Regions from separate parts of the Homo sapiens genome. Here all the other regions are linked to region 1. The links are contacts of gene promoters, found by promoter capture Hi-C in blood cells and fetal thymus (Javierre and others, 2016). All regions are on one chromosome and are shown on one strand. The core of a region is centred on a gene start or on the middle of the fragment in contact, and the rest is flanking DNA. Distances in the headings are between cores, read along the strand shown.

What was found. The method cuts DNA at HindIII sites, captures the fragments that hold promoters and counts their contacts. A CHiCAGO score of 5 or more calls a contact.
Region 2: a contact is called between the fragment with the promoter of HDGFL2 here and the fragment with the promoter of CREB3L3 in region 1, in 4 of 17 cell types (erythroblasts, M0 macrophages, non-activated CD4 T cells and 1 more). The highest score is 6.4, in erythroblasts.
Region 3: a contact is called between a fragment that was not itself captured here and the fragment with the promoter of CREB3L3 in region 1, in 3 of 17 cell types (total CD8 T cells, endothelial precursors and naive CD8 T cells). The highest score is 6.4, in total CD8 T cells.

The regions. Positions count from the first base shown.
Region 1 is chr19:4,151,914-4,155,788 of GRCh38, forward strand. It overlaps CREB3L3 (cAMP responsive element binding protein 3 like 3), which reads left to right and starts at 1,718. Exons shown (of 10, transcript NM_032607.3): 1 at 1,718-1,861; 2 at 2,986-3,114. The coding sequence starts at 1,835. The HindIII fragment of the contact is 35,033 bases long and covers 1-3,875 here.
Region 2 is chr19:4,470,527-4,474,401 of GRCh38, forward strand. HDGFL2 (HDGF like 2) reads left to right here and starts at 1,771. Exons shown (of 16, transcript NM_001001520.3): 1 at 1,771-1,896. The coding sequence starts at 1,825. RefSeq lists enhancers at 417-586, 847-1,196, 3,686-3,875 and silencers at 1,697-1,876, 1,907-1,966. The HindIII fragment of the contact is 12,260 bases long and covers 1-3,875 here.
Region 3 is chr19:3,847,815-3,851,689 of GRCh38, forward strand. All of the region lies in intron 1 of ZFR2 (zinc finger RNA binding protein 2), which reads right to left. Among named protein-coding and RNA genes, the nearest start is that of ZFR2, 19 kb to the right of the region's middle. RefSeq lists an enhancer at 1,711-2,212. The HindIII fragment of the contact is 2,011 bases long and covers 606-2,616 here.

The DNA of each region.
Region 1 (3,875 bases), core at 468-2,967:
GACTGCACTGAACATGTCATTTTTTTTTTTTTTGAGACAGAGTCTCACTGTCGCCCAGGTTGGAGTGCAGTGGTGTGATCTCAGCTCACTGCAACCTCCGCCTCCTGGGTTCAAGTGATTCTCCTGCTTCGGCCTCCCGAGTACTGGTATTGCAGGCATGTGCTACCACACCCATCTAATTTTTATATTTTTAGTACAGATGGGGTTTCACCATGTTGGCCAGGTTGGTCTCAAACTCTTGACCTCAGGTGATCCACCCACCTCGGCCTCCCAAAGTGCTGGCATTACAGATGTGAGCCACCACGCTTGGTCTAATATGTCATCTGCTAAAGGGGGACTTTGCCTGGGCACAGTGGCTCATGCCTGTAAATCCAGCACTTTGGGAGGCTGAAGCAGGTGGATCATTTGAGCCCAGGAGTTTGAGACCATACTGGCCAACACAGTAAGACCCCATCTCTATAAAAAAAAAAAAACAAAATTAGCCAGGTGTGGTGGTGCACGCCTGCAGTCCTAGCTACTTGGGAGGCTGAGACGGGAGGATCACTTGAACCCAGGAGTTGGAGGCTGCAGTGAGCTATGATCCTGCCACTGCACTCCAGCCTGGGCAATAGAGTGAGACCCTGTCCTCCACCAACACCAAAAAAAAAAACAAAAAAACAAAACAGGGCTCCTCTCTCTTGGTAGGGGGTGGAGGGGAGGTCAGAGACACCTCTCAGCCACCCGGGCTGATTCACAAATATCGAACATTCACTAAAATGTCAATACAGTGACCTAGAGCCAGAGGGGAAGAGGGAGGGTACAAGAGGAGAGTTCCAGGCAGAGGGGCGAGCAGGTGAGTAGGTGCAAAGGCCCTAAGCAGGAACCAGTTTGGCTCCATAAATATTTGTTGACTCAATGAACGATAGAAGATTCTAGAGAGAATTGATTGCACAGAATCACCCATGGGGACTCAGAGGCGGAGTCCAAGCTGGTTTCGGAGGGGGCTGGGGGCCGGAGGTTGGCAGGTGGGGTGAAGGATGGGAGCCGCTAGCTGCTGGCAGGAAAACTGGCTTCAGTGAAGATCTGGTCTGGTCCTCTTGGTTTGTTTCTGTCCAGGGAGTGGACAGGACCCATGTAAGGGCCCTGGGCTATCCCAGAACCCATCTGGGAATTCTGAAGAGAAAAAGTCCTGTAACTGGCCGGGTGCGGTGGCTCACGCCTGTAATCCCCGCACTTTGGGAGACTGAGGGGCCGATCACGAGGTCAGGAGTTCGAGACCAGCCTGGAAAACATGATGAAACCTCGTCTCTACTAAAAATACAAAAGTTAGCCGGGCATGGTGATGGGGACCTGTAGTCCCAGCTACTCGGGAGGCTGAGGCAGGAGAATCACTTGAACCCAAGAGGCAGAGGTTGCAGTGAGCCGAAATGAGATGGCACCACTGCACTCCAGCTTGGGCCACAGAGCGAGACTCCGTCTCAAAAAAGAAAGAAAAAAAGAAAAAGTCCTCATAAGTAGGGCAGAGGTCACGGCAGAGTGGAGGTACCCCAGACTTCGACCTTTGCTCACTGAGGGCTGGAAAACCACAAAACACCCAGATAACGGTCTTCCCTCCCCTGCTCCTGCCTGCCCCAGTGTCACTGGCCCTCAACCCTGTCTCTCCACCCTGTCCACCAATCAGCACCTGGAGGTGGGCTGGGAGCTGCCTGTGACCGCTTCAGCATCTTTTGGGAGTGGTGACAGAGCCACAGAGGGCTGTGAGCTTGCCCGGCCCCAGGTAACGCTGGCGGTGGGTGGGCCTCCAGCTTGGAGCAGAGACCCCCCGAGGCATCTGCAGACAGAACTGGATGGACCCATGAATACGGATTTAGCTGCTGGAAAGGTGAGCCCTACTAGGTCCCCAGGGAGAGCGGGAGTCTAGGCTGGGAAAGCCTACCCAAGCTGCCAGAGCTGGAAGGACCCCATCTCCACCCCTATTGTACAGATGGGAAGACTGAGGCCCAGAGAAAGGATGCAATGAGCAAAACTGTGTGCCTTTGCCCCGGGGCTGCCCTTGTCTTTCTTCCAGGTCCCCCTGCCTCCTAGGAGCGGGCACTTGGGGAGGCTGTGAAGGCCTGAGAGGCAAGCGGCATCTCTAGCTAGGGCCTCTCTCCAGCACTTTTTATTTTATTTTATTTTATTTTTATTTTTATTTTTTGAGATGGAGTCTCCCTCTGTCACCCAGGCTAGAGTGCAATGGCACGATCTCAGCTCACTGCAACTTCCACCTCCTGGGTTCAAGAGATCTTCCTGCCTCAGCCTCCCAAGTAGTTGGGATTACAGGTGTGCACCACCACGCCCGGCTAATTTTTGTACTTTTCCTAGAGACAGGGTTTCACCATGTTGGCTAGGCTGGTCTCAAACTCCTGACTTCAGGTGAGCTGCCCGCCTCGGCTTCCCAGAGTGCTGGGATTACAGATGTGAGCCACCGTGCCTGCCATACTTTTTTGTTTTTTGAAACAAGGTCTTGCTCTGTGACCCAGGGTGGAGTGCAGTGGGGTGGCCATAGCTCACTGCAGCCTCAACCTCCTGGGTTCAAGGGATCCTCCTACCTCAGCCTCCCCAGTAGCTGGGACGACAAGTGTGTGCCACCGCAGCCAGCTAATTTTTTTAAATTATTTGCAGTAGGGATAGGGGTCTCTATGTTGCGCAGGCTGGTCTTGAACTCCTGGGCTCAAGTGATCCTCCTGCCCCGGCCTCCCAAAGTGCTGAGATTACAGGCATGAGCCACCACATCCAGCCTCTCCAGCACTTTAAGAGAAATTGGCTCTCACACTGTGGAATTCTCTCTATCAGCCTCAAAGTCCAGATTTGGAAAGGGAGTCTCAGCGAGGGGCAGCAGCTGGCCCAACCCGGAGGCAGAGCGGCAACTGAACTCTAGCCGGAAAGAGCCAGGGTTATGTGCACATGGGAGGTGGGGAGGACAGGGGCTGTATGTGACCCTCACATCTGTTCCTCGCGCCCCAGATGGCTTCTGCTGCCTGCTCCATGGACCCCATCGACAGCTTTGAGCTCCTGGATCTCCTGTTTGACCGGCAGGACGGCATCCTGAGACACGTGGAGCTGGGCGAGGGCTGGGGTCACGTCAAGGACCAGGTGAGGAGTCCACTGCAGTTGCCCCGGGACCACAGAGCTCCAGGCGGGCCAACTGAGGCCCCACGAAGGTGCTAGACCCGCCAGAGCCCAGCCAGAGCTCTGCTCAGCTCTACGATGCACTAATGGGTCACGGTGCTTGATTTTAGCCAAGCACATCATTTAGCGGGTAGCATCAGCTCCTTCTTACAGGTGGGGAATGGAGGCCCAGAGCAGGGTGGAAACTCATCCAAAGTCACACAGCAATTTGGAGTTAGGTTCAAACTCAAACTTGGGGCATCTCCCTGGCTAGGTTCGGTTCTCTTCTCCTTCCTCTCCTTCCTTTCTCTCTTTCTTCTTCTTTTTTTTTTTTTTGAAGGAGTCTCGCTCTGTTGCCCAGGCTGGAGTGCAGTGGTGCCATCTCGGCTCACTGCAACCTCTGCCTCCCGGGTTCAAGCGATTCTCTTGCCTCAGCCTCCCAAGTAGCTGGGATTACAGGCGCCCGCCACTGCACCTGGCTAATTTTTGTATTTTTAGTAGAGATGGGTTTCACTATCCTGGCCAGGCTGGTCTTGAACTCCTGACCTTGTGATCCACCCACCTCAGCCTCCCAAAGTGCTGAGATTACAGGCGTGTGCCACCGCGCCCGGCCCACTTTCTTTTTTTTCTTTCTTTTCTCTCTCTTTTTCTCTTTCCTTCCTTCCTTCCTTCCTTTTTTCCTTCCTTTCTCCCTCTTTCTTTTACTCTCTTTTTTTTTTTTTGAGATAGAGTTTCACTCTTGTCAC
Region 2 (3,875 bases), core at 521-3,020, 320 kb after region 1:
TGATCCCCCAGGAGAGAAGAAGTCGTCTCCATTATTCAGCTTTTTTTCCTCAAGCACCCTGGTTCATTTTAGTTCTTACCATGGATCCTAATTACAAAAAACAAAACAAAACACAGCAACATCAACAAATTTTAAAACTTAACATTTCTTGGCCCTGTTATACTTGATTCCTGGAAGGTAGAGTTTTGTTTTTTGTTTTTGTTTTTTTTTTGAGACAGAGTCTCGCGCTGTCGCCCAGGCTGGAGTGCAGTGGCACGATCTCGGCTCACTGCAAGCTCCGCCTCCCGGGGTCAGGCCATTCTCCTGCCTCAGCCTCCCTAGTAGCTGGGACTACAGGCGCCTGCCACCACGCCTAGCTATTTTTTTTGTATTTTTAGTCGAGACGGGGTTTCACTATGTTAGCCAGGATGGTCTCGATCTCCTGACCTCGTGATCCACCCACCTCGGCCTCCCAAAGTGCTGGGATTACAGGCGTGAGCCACCACGCCCTGCCGGAAGGTAGAGTTATAGCTTTTTTTTTTCTGCTCTGTCACCCAGTCTGGAGTGCAGTGGCGCGATCTCGGCTTACTGCAACCCCCCGCTCCTGGGTTCGAGTGATTCTCCTGCCTCAGCTTCCTGAGTAGCTGGTATAGGTGCGTGCCACCACGCCCAGCTAATTTTTGTATTTTTAGTAGAGACGGGGTTTCACCATGTTGGCCAGGCTTGGTCTCAAACTCCTGACCTCGTGATCCGCCCGCTTCGTCCTCTCAAAGTGCCGGGGTTACAGCCGTGAGCCATCGCGTCCGGCCGAGTTATAGCTTCTAATACTTCCTGTATTTCCTGTTGCCGGGCTCAGTCTAGAGCAGGGTCCTCACAATCATTATGGGCCCCATCTTCCAAGTGCAGAGAGCGAAGCCCAGGACAATCAAGTGACTCGGCCCCACGGTATTCAGTACATTTTTCTTGAATGAATGAATAGGTCTGTGTGGCGTTTTGGGGCCCTGGCATATAGTAGGTACTCAGTTAAGTTTTTAACTAAGTGAAGAAATAACTATTTTGTGCATTTTGTGGCTGTTTATACTAAGAGCTCCCCCGGAGCCTGCCCCTTCCTCTAAGTCCCGCCTCCTCGAGCTGGCAATCGCCCGTCCCTGTTTTATGTTGTATCGCTCTTCTTTCGATAGCCAATGGCCGACGTTCCCGCTGAAGCCCCGCCTCTTGTGATGGCCAATGCCTGCTCCCTACCTTGAGGCGCTTCTCTTGTGGTATCCAATGGCTTGCATATCTACTTTAAGCCTCTCCTCCTGAGCGGGAGAGGCTGTCAATGACCCGCCCATTGCGTTAAGTGATTGGCCTTCTTTTCTGCGGTATCCAATGTTCTGCCCTCCTTATATCCCCTTCTCTTGTGGAGGTCTATGTCCTGCCTCTTTCCCTTAAGCTCCACCCCTTCACTCCCTTAGAGCGTCTGTTCGTCTCCTCCCACCTTTCCCTTTCACCTCCCATAACCTCCCATTAGAGTCTCTGGGTTACGCCCCTTGGGTCTGTCCGTTATCCAATCCCGTTAACTGCTGTGCTCCAACCTCTGTTCTTATTGGTCGCCTCCCTTCTCTGTCCCCTGCACGTGGTCCTGATCGACGGCTTTGCCGGCCCGTGACGGCCGGAGGGCTGAACTTCCGTTGGCGCAACGCCCAATAAGCGCGCGTCGGCAGGCTGCCCAGACAGCCTCCCCCGCCCCCTCGGCGTCCCGCTCCCGCCCCCGGCTTCGCCTCCCGCTGCCGCCGCCGCCGCCGCCGCAGCCGCTACCGCCGCTGCAGCCGCTTTCCGCGGCCTGGGCCTCTCGCCGTCAGCATGCCACACGCCTTCAAGCCCGGGGACTTGGTGTTCGCTAAGATGAAGGGCTACCCTCACTGGCCTGCCAGGGTGAGGCCGCGCGGGAGATGGGGCCGGTGGGGGGGGGGGGGGGGGCAGCGGGGGCCCCGGGCCGGAGGCGGGCACTGGAGGGCCGGGGTTGTCCTGGGCCTGAAGGAGCTGCGCCCCGGGGGTCTGGGGTTCATGGGGTCTGGGGGTGTCCGAGACCCGCAGCGGCCCCGCCCTGGGGGTCTGGGGGTCCTGGGCCGCAGGGAGCTGCGCCCTAGGGGTCTGGGGTTGTCCGGGGCCTGCCGGAGCCGCGCCCCGGGGTCTAGGGATCCTGGGCCTCAGGGAGCCCCGCCCTCGGGGCCTGGGGGTCCTGGGCTGCAGGGAGCCGCGTTCTTGTGGTCTGGTGGTGTTCGGATCCTGCAGGACCCGCCGTCTGGGCCTGCAGGAGCCCCTCCCGGGGTCTGGGGGTCCTCGGCCTCAGGGAGCTGCGTCCTGGGGTTCTGGGGGTGTCCAAGCCCTGCAGGAGCCGCGCCCCGGGGTCTGGGGGCCCTGGGCCTCAGGGGGCCGCGCCTAGGGGTTCTGAGGGTGTCTGCGGCCTGAGAGACTCTCGCCCTTGGTGTATGAGGGTTTTGGGGCTCAGAGAGTCGCTCCCTGGGAGTCTGGGGGTATCCTGGGCCCGAGGGAGTCGCACCTTGGGGGTTTGGGGGTGTTTGGGGCCTGAAAGAGCCGCGCGCCGACGGTCTGGGGGTCCCGGGCCCGAGGAAGCGGTGCCCTGGGGGTCTGGGGCCTGATAAATTCTCACTCTGGGGGAATGGCGGTCCTGGACCTGAGGGAGCTGCGCCGTGGGGATCTGGGGGGTGTCCAGGGCCTGAAGGAGCTGCGGCGCCAATGGTCTGGGGGTCCTGGGCCTGAGGAAGCTGCGCTCTGGGGGTCTGGGGCTTCTGTGCCTGAGGGAGCTGCACCATGGGGATCTGGGGTTGCCCTGGCCCAGAGGGAGCCACGCCTCGTGTGTCTGGGGGTGTCCAGGGTGCCTCAGGGAGCCGTGCGCAGGGTGTCTGGGAGGGTCTGGGACCTGAGGGACCCTCACCTGAGGGCCTGGGGATCCCAGGCCTGAGGGCTCAAGGTTCAAGTTTGAGCAGAACTGCGGAACTTGAGATTTGGGGTCAGATATGGGGGCTGAAGCACTCCCTTGTGGGTCCTGGAGAAGCCCAGTTTTGAGGGGCTGGGGGGCCGAGGGCCATGTGCTAGGGGTCCAGGGTTGGAGGAGGCAGTCAGGGGGGAAGGTTGAGGGTCAAGGCTAAGGGAAGCTGGGACCTCTGAGTGAGGGGCTGGGGGTGGGGGAATGGGGCTCGGGGCTCTGTTCACGGGGTCACTGGGACTCGGGGAACTGGACCTTAGAATGAAGTTGGCATCGGGACTGTTGGGGGACCCTGGGGATTGGTCCCCTGTGGGGAGGAGGATGTAGAAGCTGGTTTTGGAGGGACTTGAGGGTGGGGTGGTCCAACCCCAATGCTTGAAATGGAGACAGGCCCGGGCCCAGGGAGTGGGAGCGCTTCTGAGGGAAGGGGGCTGGCCGAGGGGACCTTGGATGCCCCTTTGGTGGAAGCTGGGGTCCCGACGACCTGGATAGTCCCAGGTGTCCTGGCCTGAAGGATATTCCGCACCTTGGAGTCCCAGGTGTGGAGGGGGTGAGTTCCAGGCCCTGAGAGGTACAGGCCAGCGGGAAGCAGGGACCCCAGGCTATTGTCATCCCCAGGTCTTAGGGCTGAGTCTCCCAGGGCTGAGGTTGGTGGAATTTGCCGGGCAGGACTGAGGAATTTGGCACTGGGGGTGGAAGGCTGGGGCAGCAGGGAGGGGCTGTGGAGGGGGACACCAAACGGTGCTCTGGACCAGAACCAGCCCAGGTCCGAAGCTGGCAATGCCGCTGGGATGGGTGGGCCTCGGAGGACCGTGGGCGGGTCTTGGGAGAAGCGGGGCTGTGAGGCATGCCGGGCTGGTCCTCGGGTGGACTGAATTTAGGATGCTTCTGGCGGGAGAGGGAT
Region 3 (3,875 bases), core at 361-2,860, 300 kb before region 1:
AAGAGTCAACGGCAAAGAGGCCGGGAGAGCTGATTTAGAATCATCAGGCTCCACTCCTGGAGCCGGGACCACCCTCTCCTGAGACATACAGGAGAGGGGCGGAGTCCAAACCAAGCTGGCCAGAAGACAGGACAGGATGGAGACTGGGAGGACACCCACAGGCCCTCTCTTTGGTTTTGTACAATCTACAGAGCTCAACAAGAGGGTATGATCGGCCCAAGATATAGTGCAGGGGCAGGGAAATCCAAGTACGGTTGCAGCTCTAGAGCCCTTTGGACTGAGACCTGCTGCCTCTTTTGTATAAAAAGCTTTCATGGCTGGGCACAGTGGCTCACGCCTGTAATCCCAGTACTTTGGGAGGCCGAGGCAGGTGGATCACCTGATGTCAGGAGTTCGAGACCAGCCTGGCCAACATGGTGAAACCCCGTCTCTGCTAAAAATGCAAAAATTAGCCAGGCATGGTGGCGGGCGCCCGTAATCCCAGCTACTTGGGAGGCTGAGGCAGGAGGATCGCTTGAATGGGGGAGGTGGAGGTTGCAGTGACCCAAGACTGTGCCATTGCACTCCAGGCTGGGCAATAAGAGCGAAACTCCATCTCGGAAAAAAGCTTTCATGGCCAGGTGTGGTGTCTCACACCTGTAATCCCAGCACTCTGGGAGGCCAAGATGGGAGGATCTCTTGAGCCCAAGAGTTTAAGACCAGCCTGGGCAACATAGCAAGATCCCATCTCTACAAAACAGAAAAATTAGCCAGGCATGGTGGTGCACCTGCAGTCCCAGCTCCTCAGGAGGCTGAGGCAGGAGGATTTCTTGAACCTAGTAGGTTGAGATCACACCACTGCACTCCAGCCTGGGCAACAGAGCAAGACCCCATCTCTTAAAAACACAAAGTGTTAGGCTGGGCGCGGTGGCTCACGCCTGTAATCCCAGCACTTTGGGAGGCTGAGGTGGGCGGATCACGAGGTCAGGAGATCGAGACCATCCTGGCTAACACGGTGAAACCCCGTCTCCACTAAAAATACAAAAAAAAATTAGCCAGGTGTGGTGGCGGGCACCTGTAGTCCCAGCTACTCAGGAGGCTGAGGCAGGAGAATGGCATGAACCCCGGAGGCGGAGCTTGCAGTGAGCCGAGATCACACCACTGCACTCCAGCCTGGACAACAAAGCGAGACTCCGTCTCAAAACAAAACAAAACAAAACAAAACAAAAACCAAACAAACAAAAACACAAAGCGTTCAGTACTAGATAGTAAATCGTGAGTAGCTTTCTGGGGAGGAAGCTCCATTCTTCTCTGGCTTCCCTGGGTCCTGAGACCTTGCCCCTCCAACCTGGAGGCCCAGGCGTGCTGAGCAGCACCAGCAGAGGGCTGTGGGGGCAAGTGAACCTCAGGTGGAAGGCTGAGCAGAGTCCTTCAGCCCAGGACCCCAAGGAAGGAGCAGGAACCTGTGGGGCTTTCTCTATCTGCTCCTGCTGTGCCTCCGCACACAGCTTTGTCTCCACCTGGTGGACACCCCACCTAAGAGGACAGTGGAGGCGGCTGGTTGGTGAACTGGCTCCATGGCAGAGATCAGACAGCCCATGCAGCAGAGGGCAGAGCTTTCCAACTCAGGCCCTTCTGACATTTGGGACAACATTGTTCTCTGGGGTGGGGCCGTTCTGGGCCCTGCAGCGTGCTGAGCAGCGTCCCCAGCCTCCACCCACTCCATGCCAGGAGCTCCCCCAAATCGTGACAATGACAAATGTTCCCAGACCTTGACCAGTTAAGAACTGATGGTCTAGGACAAGCTCAATGCCAGGGCGTAGCCTTGTGCAGGTGGACAGAGCCAAAGGCTGCTTCCTGCCTGGTTCAGCCCATACTCTGGAAGGATCCCCAGGATGTTGTAGGCTGGCCTCTGACTTGGAGTCAGGCTTGAGTCAGCACCATGAAGACAGTGAATGAAAAAGAACACGCTCTTCTTGTAGACAACCCTGAACAGCAATGCTCAGGCACGCTACAGTTTGGAATCCACTGAGCCAGGGCGCAGGGAAAATGGATGTGCGACCAACATGCAGATGGCTGGACGTCCGCTGGCTGAGGGCAGGTCTCAGCATCCCTGCTGGCCTGCAGGGCAACTCCCACTGGTTTCAGTGTTACACCCTGTGAACGTCACAGCTGTGAGCAGACTGAGGACCTGTGAGGGATACAGGGTCAGGGTGACATCAGGCAAGATACCCTTGACCTCGCCGCAGGTCCCCACCCTGTCCCGCCACTCTGCTGTCTGATGGCAGGAATGGAGTGCCTCTCCTACACAGATAACAGAGACGCGGGGGCAGAGGCAGCGAAACCCAGGCACCCTCTGGGAGAAGGAGGGGCATGCCAACTGCTCTGAAGACCCAGGAGGCTCCCCCAGAGGCTGGAAAAGCCCCGGGGAAGGGTGCCTGGGATTTCAAAGAGGAGGGGCTCGCTGAGAGGAGCGTGGGAGAAATGAGGAGTGCTGGTGGGGCGACTGTCCTGGGTGCTGAGGGACAGAGGTTATCAGGGTGAGGGGTGACGGGAGGCAGCTCAGGGCTCTCCAGTGCCAGGTAGAACCTGGGATTTATCCTCAGCCATGAGGAGCCACCTGGGCATCTCATGACAAGCTTTGGCCTGAATTACGTCCCCCTGCCCCCAATTCTTATGTTGAAGCCCTAACCCCCATGTGACTGTATTTGGAGATGAGGCCTTCAGGGAGGGAATGAAGGTTATATGACGTCATCAGGTGGGGACTGATCTGAGCAGAACTGGGGTCCTTATAAGAAAAGGAAGAGGCCGGGCACAGTGGCTCACACCTCTAATCCCAGCACTTTGGGAGGCTGAGGCAGGAGGATCACTTGAGCCCAGGAGTTAGACATCAGCCTGGGCAAGATACTGGGATCCCATCTCTACAGAAAAACAACAACAACAACAACAACAACAACAAAACAAACACACACAAAAAAACCACACTTTGCGCCTGTGGATCCTTGGGAGGCTGAGGTGGGAGGCTCGATTAAGCTCAGGAGATTGAGGCTGCAGTGAGCTGTGATCTCACCACTGCACTGCAACCTGGATGACAGGGCAGTCTTTTCAAAAAAAAAAAAAAAAAAAAAAAGAGACACCAGCAGTGCACATGGACAGAGAAAAAGCCACAGGAGGACACTGTGAGGAGGTGGCCATCTGAAAGCCAAGGAGAGAGCCCTCACCAGAAACCACCCCCTGCTGGCACCTAGATCTCACACTTCTGGCCTCCAGAACAGGGAAAAAATACATTTTGTTTAAGCCTCAGTCTGTGGTATTGTTAGGGAAGCCCCAGCCGACCAAGACAGGTGGAGACGGTTAGAGAGGGGAGCAGTTAGAGGGAAGGCCCATTAAGGACACGAGACACACAGGGGCCAGAACTAGAGGGGGTGATGGACAGGGGGACAGAACACATGCGCCATCATGTCACCGGCAGGAAAGCACAGTCAAAGCCAGCTCTCAGCAGTGTAGGGCTTTACAAACACCTAAAACAGGGCCTGGGAACAGCCAAGAGTAATATGTGTTTGGTGACTGTGACCACACAGTGACCATGACTCAGGAAGGGAACACTTGGCCTGCCTCATCTCAAGTCATTGCTTGTGACCCCAGAAGCCACCAAAACATGCAAATGCATGCACACACACGTGCATGCACACACTGCTGTTCCATTCCACTAAGCATGCTTACACGAGGAAGTAGAGCATGGGCTTTGTCTCCAATGGGGCAGCCCACATCTTCATGGGTCTCACACCCACTCTCAGGGGAGACCATGGCCTGGCAGAGCCCAGAATTTAGGGGAGGAAGGGAGGGGACAGAAGGGTTTTTAAGATGGAGTCAGCTATGTATGGCCAAATGCGGCC